3 separate regions of the Homo sapiens genome follow, and all the other regions are linked to region 1. Evidence: promoter capture Hi-C in 16 types of primary human blood cells and fetal thymus (Javierre and others, 2016). All regions are on one chromosome and are shown on one strand. The core of a region is centred on a gene start or on the middle of the fragment in contact, and the rest is flanking DNA. Distances in the headings are between cores, read along the strand shown.

Region 1 (2,778 bases), core at 177-2,676:
ACACAGAAGACACAAATAATTCAAGGCCACGTGCATGGGAGCAGGGCAGCCTGCTAAGTTCTGCTTTCATTCCTTCCCTAAACATTCATTCCCTGAAGTTGATAGGCGCCTTCGGGATTAGAGCTTCAACTGTGGTCATCGAAGCCCACCAGGACACGACCACAGACCACGGATTGGCTCCACGGTTCTCTTCCTCCCCCAACCTTCTCCTCAGTGCCACTATTGGGAGCTCTTTCTGTGTCTCCAGGGGCTCTCAGATAACCAGGGTCCCAGGTGAACTCCCGACAAACACAGGTGCACCATGTCGTTTGCATGGGTGTCGCTGGCCCCCGCTGCTGGGGCAGGCTGGCCTGCTGCTTGGTGCAACACCCATCAGTCACTTCTGCCAAGGCCCCTACTCTGTCCTGACCCCGGTGGGGGCCATGGGGTTGGGGGAATGGGACTGGGATAGGAGATGAACATGACAGCTTTTAGGAAGAAGATATCTTGGTTTCCTCTGGAAAAATCCTTCCATTTCTTTAAACCCACCACAAGCCACTTTGAGGGACTGCCTGAGCGCCCCATGTTCCCCTACCGACCTCCCCTCTTTGCCCTCCCACTGACTCCCAGACCCCCGGTGGGCGCAGGTCGGTACTCACGCTGCTGGGGTGGAGGACGGGCAGAGGCAGCAGCAGGAGCGGGACGCAGACGACCAGCAGCAGCTTCCGGACTCGGAGCAGGCCCTGCAGCAGGCCCATCGCGCCTCTGTCCTCTCCAGCTCGTCCTTGGACCCCGCTCTGCCGGCGAAAGGCTTCCTGCCTGGGCACTGCTCTCTATCCAGAAAGACTTCTTAAACCTTTCTTGGCTTCCGAGAGTCCTCCTTCGTCTTGGGGGCAGAACGGGAGGGCAGTTATACCCTCGCTGTTTCTACAAGAGGCTGGGCTCCTGGCCTCCTGCTTTAGGTGGGATTGATGAGCATCGTTTTGTGACCAGCAAAAAGGAACTGGGAAAGGATGATAAACGGGGGCATAGTGGGCCTCCTCTCGGCTTGATTAGTAATAGAGTAACTTCATTCTAGGTGTCAGCAGAAACCCCCTTAATCCTTTAAGCCACACCTTTGCTGCTGCTGCTCGGCCTTGAAGAAATCATTTAAAAGCTTAAAAACATTAAAAACGCTCAGAGCACATTGTGCTCTCCATCAGTTTTCCTCCCTCGGATGACCTATTTTGGGGAGTACCTGTTTCATCTCCCACCTGGGCTCGCTGTTGGTAAGACTCTAGTAGCCCCTTTCCTTAAAACAAGCACCTGAGCTTGTCAGAGTTGCATGCGGACTTCAGGTGGGGCTGCTGGTCGCTCCCAGGACGTGGTACCTTAACTCTGTTCACATGTCTTTCCCTCAAATTGGTTCCCTACTTATAATTTGCCTTGAGCCTGGGCCTGCAAAGCAGAAAAGAAAAGTCCCCAAGACATTCCTTTTTATCAAAGGACAAAACTTGCTGGAGGCCCACCTTTAACTTTCATCCACCAATGGGAAGCCGGGACAGAGACAGTAGCTCCGCCCACTTCTCAAAGCCAATCAGCAAATTGAAAAGAATGAGTCAATTTCTCTCCCCGCGGCCGCTCTTGATTGGTCACAGCGGGGGCCTGCTGATTCCGCAGAACCTAGGCAGCCTGCTAAGCTTATTTTTCAGTTTCTCAAACTTCCTAGGGCTGGAGTGATGACCATCATCGTAAACATAATCTCACGTACCCAAGCACAGCTTTATTGTTTCGGATCATAGGACACAGAGCTTTCGCTGGGAGGGCCACCTGCTGATCTAGACCTTGGGAAGGGAATGTGCCTGGTGGCAGGGAGAAAATGCAACATTACTTCTGGAGAATTTGCCTCAGAGTGTACAAAGTTAAGCCTTTCAGACCTCCCTGCTGGCAAAGATCGTTTGCCTCAGCACCGAGGGGGGAATATAAAGGGTCTAGGCCAGCAGAGGGTATGAGCTCGTGAGAAAGACCCCAGATCTTTTGGGAAGTATAGCTGCCTCCCTGGCAAAGTCTAGATGCCAGTCTCATGCCCAGATGTCAGTGGTCTCTCTGGCTAAAGTAGGTGCTCAAATGCTTCTCTCTGGGGCTCTCCAAAAAGGAAACCGAAGACCTTCTTTGGCTGGTACGAAAGGAGGAGGTGGGAGGGCAGGGAAGAAGTTGACAAGTTCAGGGACAAGGTCTTAGCTGCAGTTGAACTCTGGAATTTCTCCTGTTTACAGATTGGAAGAAGTTGTTAGCTTCTTTTCTCAGAACGGACATGTGGATTTGGGGCAAGGAAGAAAAGCAAAAGCAAAAGCCCAAACATTCTGTAAGTAGTGGTTCTTGGCAACATTACCTTACCTTGATCTGGGAGATGCTGAGCAGAGTCAAAGGGTTATAAAACCCATGTTGTCTTGAATTCACAGAACACAGGAATGGCGTTCGAAGATCTGCAACTATACTACTTGGAAATGATCCCCAGGCTAAAGTGACCAGGGAAGTGACCCAAAAAACAAATTCTTCTTGACTTTTAAGGCAGGTGCAACTGTGGACAGCTGAGGTCCCCTTTGAAATTATCTTGCCATCGTAGGATGGGCTAGGATGACTCAACTCTTTAAATGCATGTTAAAGACTGGCTACTGTATTTACTACATTCTGGCCTCATTTTTTTTTGGTTATGATTTTGAAACTCAGAATGAACAATACCACGTGTGTGATGTTTTGGTCGCAAACATTAAAGACAGCGAATAATTATAAGCAGCTGTGGAAGTCAACATCCACTGT
Region 2 (2,700 bases), core at 92-2,591, 300 kb after region 1:
CCATCCTGTTAAAGGTCAGCCCTTCCCTGTGTGCTCTGGATCCTATGCCAGCTCACCTTATTGAGAACTTTGTTTCTTTATGTTCTCTTCCTCCTGCTTTAGTCATCTTTTCCTTTCAATCAGATCATCTCAGCTGCACACAAACATTTTCTAGGCTCTCTGAGCAAACAAGCAAGGACTTGAACCAACTCCTTGACCTTTCGGGCTGGAGTATTTCTTTGCATTTTTTCCTGGTCAGACTTCAACCGTTGTCTGTGCAGCCATTATAGAAATTTCTTCTTCATTTTTCATCTCCTCCCTGAGCCATTATAGTTGGCTTCCACTGTGACCACCAATTTGCTGAAACCATTGTCAAAGTCAAGGTAGAAAGTGATTTTCATTTTGCTAAATCTAGTAGACATTTCTCTATTCTTATCTAACGTGATTGTTTTTAGCAGCATCTAATCCACTTGACCACTTCTTGAAGAATTCTCCTTTTTTAATGCTCCTCATGCCTCCGGCTTTCTCCTATTTCACCAGCACCCCCTGCTCAGACTCCCTTGCCTGCTTCCCCTGCTCAACTAATCCTCTAAATGATTGTTTTCTGGGGAGCTCTTACGGACCCTTTTCCCTTTTCTGATTTTTCTCCCTAGATGGATTTCATCTATTCTATGGATTCAAATACCAAACAAATTTGGTCCTAATGTTAAAGACTACCAAACATACCTTCTGCCCTGATCCCTCATCAGAACTCCATTCTTGCAGATCCAGCTGCCTACTTGACATTTCCACCTGAGTGTCTCACAGATATGGCAAAATTTATAAGTTCAAAATGCATTGTTAACACTTCCCACAAATCTCAATCTCAGCAAATGGCCTCACAATCCTCTTGGCTACTCCAAGAATCCCAGGAATGATATTTGATTCCTTCCTTTCTCTTCTTGCACAAGTCTCATCTATCAGAAGATTATGTTTGTTGTATTTCTTAAATATGCCCTAATCTCCCTTTTTTTGAACTCCATTGCTACCATTTATTCCAGATCAATATCTTTTAGTCTTCCCACACTAATTTATTCTTCTCATATTATTAAAGGTAATGTGCTTAAAACAGAAATTGTATGAGGTCACCCCCAGGCCTGCTTAAAACTCTCCAGGGACTTGCCATTGTACCTAGAACAAGGTCTGAGGTTTAAACCATCATCTCTAGGATTTGCATAATCTCATCCCTTCTTCAATCATATGTCTTAACTTTCTTTTCCCTAGTGGATGGACTTCATCCATTCTTCTTTTTCCTTTCTCAAAAATTCCATGCTCTGTCTTGTTTCATAGTCTTTGAACATGTTCTTTTCTCATCTGTAGAATCTTTTTCTCATTCTATGTATGTCTACAGCTCTTCTTAACAATCTTTGTCTTAGCTTAAGTAACACTTCTTTAGAAAGATCTTCCTTGACTATTCTAAACTTAAGAATCTTGTTTGTCTCCACAATAGCATTAAACATAACATATAACCATTTAAACCATTTTATTTATTTGAATTTTGCCTCCTTATCTTGTTCTCTTTCAAATTGCAAACTCCCTGATGTTAGGGATGTCTTTTCTACCTCTAGCACCTATTACAGTGCCTGGCTCAATTTGCTTTATAAAGGAATAAGACACATGAAGAAATTAGTTTATATAAAAGCAGTAGGTCAGCGATCTTTTCCTTTCTGTACTAGGCTATACTGTGATCATTTGAGTAGAATGGAAAGCAGTGATAAAATTTTCTTGAAGGAAATAGTTGGGTATATCTGGCTCCCTGAGTTTTGCAATTGCTAAACTTTTGTTTATTTTTCTCCCCGTGAATATGGATGGGAGGTAGAAGGTTAATTACTATGACATTTTTTTTCTAATATATCTCAAACCTAGGTGTTAAAACAAGCATGTGTTGGCTTTTAGTCATTGTTTGTTTCAGAGGGCACATTACTATTTTGTGCCTCTGGGTATAAGGCATTTCTCTTCTTTCTGAGTTCTCTGTTTTTAATTATTATTATTCTTTGGTTTTACAAAGTGTGATATTCACCCCATGTATAATGCTCTTTCTGGACACTTTAATTCATGGAAGAACATTTTCTCCAATGATTTTTAGGGAAAAACAGTAGTTATGCTAAGATTATCTAACAGCAGGGGTTCCTAATTTTATCTTAAGTCATAGATTCCCTTGAGTGTCTAGTCCAAGCTATGTAATAATTGCATTGAAAAATGCATCTACACACACAAACATGTTTTGGGTACATGTTAATGAACTGGCTAAAGCCCATTCATGAGCCCTACACACTTAAGAACCATTATTCTGCAATGCTCATACACACCTTGGGGAATTCCCTTATTCTCCACCCATGAATTTGACAAACCAAACATTTTTGATGGAGGGGGCACATTTAGGTCCAGAGCATGAGAATTCAGTTCCCCTTACCCCTCAAAATAAGAGCTGAAGGTCTTCCTCCACCCTGAGATTGTCTAGTCTTAATAGTTATGTTATATAATACCTTCCATCATTGAAGTGCTCTCTTTTTTTTTGGTGATAACCAAATATTTTTGTATGAGGTATTTGGTTATCACCAAAAAATGTTTATTTCTTCAAAGAACTCATGATACCATTAGGAAGGTAAGACAGATGGAAACAGTTTATTAATCTACACACTGAATTCCTTGCTCTAGATGACATCAAAATAAGTAAGACCT
Region 3 (2,806 bases), core at 307-2,806, 320 kb after region 1:
ATGGCACCTTATTGCTGCATCCTCCAGAGGAGCCAGACGCCTGTGTCCTCACAGGGCAGAAGGGATGGAAGGGCAAAAGCTTCCTTGCTAGTACACATCAGCCCTTTTGTGAGACACTAATTCCATCCTTGAGGATAGAGCCCTCAGGGTCTAATCACCTCCCAAGGGCCCCACTTCTTAAGACAGTTGTGCTGGTGATTACGTTTCAACATAAATTTTGAGGGGACAAAAACACTGCAACCATAGCAGATCCTTTTGATTATGATGTGCCACCTGAATAATCCAGGGTAATCTCCTTATTTGCAGGTCTGTTGACTAGCAACCTTTATTTTATTTGCAACCTTAATTCCCCCTTGCCATGTAAGGTAACCTATTCACCTTGGTTCTGAAGATTAAGCTGTGAGCATTTTGGGGGCCATTATTCCGCCTACCACAGTGTTCAATATGGATAGCTACTACTGTACAATCGGTCCTGCATCATCTGTGGGTTCTGCGTCCATGGATTTAACTGACTGCAGATTGAAAATAGTTTTTAAAAAGCATTTGTACTGAATATATACAGACTTTTTTCTCATCATGATTCCTTAAGCTATGCAATATAACTACTATTGACATGGCATTTACATTATATTAAATATTATAAGTAATCTAGAGATCATTTAAAGTATATGGGAGATGTGCCTAAGTTATATGCAAACACTATTTTATTTTGTATGAGGGACTTGAGCATATCCAGATTTTGGTATGGGGATGTCCAGGAACCAATCCCTTCCACATACTGAGGGACAGCTACATATAGTGAACTGTGCTAGTCAATGAAAAGGATGTGAAGAAAAATCCGCTGTAACCTGTTAATTCAAAGCAGCATACGGCTTGATTTCTACCTCTTAAATAGGTAGAAATAAAATGCTGTTAGTCATGGGTAGCGTTCAGAAGAGAACAAATCACACCTGGAAATGAGGATCAAGAATCAGGAATGGATCTGTGCAAACAGTATTTCATTTGAGACTAGAGGCTGGGTAAAACTTGAAGGGGTGAAGATCAGATTTAGTTTAGGAGAGGTGGTGGGAAGAGAACCTTCTAGACTAGCTATATCCAGTAGAAATATAATATAAACCAAATATAATGTAAACATTTCTAGTAGATACATTAAAGAAGAAAAAAAGGTGAAATTTATTTTATTTTATTTTATTTTGTTTTGACACAGAGTCTTACTCTGTTGCCCAGGCTGGAGTGCAATGGCGTGATCTTGGTTCACTGAAACCTCCAGCTCTCAGGTTCAAACAGTTCTCCTGCCTCAGCCTCTGGAGTAGCTGGGATTACAGGCGCCCGCCACCATGCCCAGCTAATTTTTGTATTTTTAGTATAAATGGGGTTTTACCATGTTGGCTAGGCTGGTCTCAAACTTCTGACCTCAAGTGATCCACCTGCCTTGGCCTCCCAAAGTGCTGGGATTACAGGCACCCAGCCTGAGATTACTTTTAATAATATATTTTATTTAATTCTGAATATCGAGAATATTATCATTTTGATATGTAAGGGATATAAATGAATTATTGAGGTATGTTACATGCTTTTTGTTCCTGTGTGAAGTCTTTGAAGTTTGGTATGACCTTACACTTAACAGTGCATCTCAATTTGAAGAAGCCCAATTTGTAGGACTCATTAGCTGCATGTGGCTAGTGGCCTCCATGTTGGGAGCACAGACATTGATGAAGACAATGGCATCAGCAGAAGCATGGTGACAGGAAAGTTCAGGATAATTTGGGGAACACGACAGTGCAACAAGGTAAGAGAGAAAACAAAAATATTTAGGTTTCAAATTGCAGAAGACTCAGAATGTTAAGTGTTTGTACCTAATTTGGAAGGCATTAGGAAACTAGTGAAGGTTTTAGGCAGACAAATGAAATATTTAGAGTGGCCTAAGTGTGCTTGAAGAGAGAAAGAGACATAAAACTTGATTCTTCCACTTAGAAGTTTAAAATCTTGTAGGGGAGAAGAATGTGTACACAAAGTAATAATGATCTAAGATAGAGAGTACTGTGTGTTAGATTATCAGTACACATAATAAATGCTACAAGAGAGGAAAGAAAGGAAGCCCCAAGGCTCAGAAGTCTGAGACGAGTTTTCCAGGGCTGACCTCAGAATGTCAGCAGGGTTAAGTTCCTCTGGGAGGCTCTCGGGGAGATTCTGGTTCCTTGCCCTTTCCAGTATCTAGAGGCCACCTGCATTCCTTGGCTTGTTGCCCCCTTATCTTCAGATACAGCAATTGCATCACTTCGACCTCTGACCGAGACAATAGGAGGAGCGTTGGGGAAGTTGGGGAGCGTTCCTGGTGGGAAGCTGGCTGAACCCACAGTGTGAGTGTAGGCATCTCCATGGTCTGTTTGGGAGGAGTGGAAGCTCCCAGCCTTCATTGAATAGTGAGAGATAACGATGGTGAGCTAGGTTGATGCCATATTTTGGCAGATCCATCTGAAGAGCCTGAACACTCTCTCAAAGTCAAGAGAGAACCTCTAACAATTTAATTTTTCTCTTTCCTTTTAGAGACTGGGTCTTACTGTGTCACCCAGGCTGGAGTGCAGTGGCATGATCAATGCTCTCTGCAGCCTCAACTTCCTGGGTTCAAACAATCCTCCTGCCTCAGCCTCCTCAGTATCTGGGACTAAAGGTACATGCCACCACAACTGGCTAATTTTTAATGTATTTTTTATTTGGTAGAGATAGGATCTCTCCATTTTGCCCAGGCTGGTTTTGAACTCCTGGGCTCAAGTGATCCTCTCACCTTGGCCTCTAATGATTTAAA

The links. The method cuts DNA at HindIII sites, captures the fragments that hold promoters and counts their contacts. A CHiCAGO score of 5 or more calls a contact.
Region 2: a fragment that was not itself captured here is called in contact with the fragment with the promoter of SLC13A4 in region 1 in 1 of 17 cell types (neutrophils); the score reaches 7.2 in neutrophils.
Region 3: a contact is called between a fragment that was not itself captured here and the fragment with the promoter of SLC13A4 in region 1, in 1 of 17 cell types (neutrophils). The highest score is 6.3, in neutrophils.

What each region holds. Positions count from the first base shown.
Region 1 is chr7:135,726,760-135,729,537 of GRCh38, forward strand. SLC13A4 (solute carrier family 13 member 4) reads right to left here and starts at 1,427. Exons shown (of 16, transcript NM_001318192.2): 1 at 639-1,427. The coding sequence starts at 737. The HindIII fragment of the contact is 523 bases long and covers 1,134-1,656 here.
Region 2 is chr7:136,027,296-136,029,995 of GRCh38, forward strand. It overlaps a transcript of LOC105375523 not described here. Among named protein-coding and RNA genes, the nearest start is that of MTPN, 51 kb to the left of the region's middle. The HindIII fragment of the contact is 5,093 bases long and covers 1-2,700 here.
Region 3 is chr7:136,047,064-136,049,869 of GRCh38, forward strand. It overlaps a transcript of LOC105375523 not described here. Among named protein-coding and RNA genes, the nearest start is that of MTPN, 71 kb to the left of the region's middle. The HindIII fragment of the contact is 2,958 bases long and covers 78-2,806 here.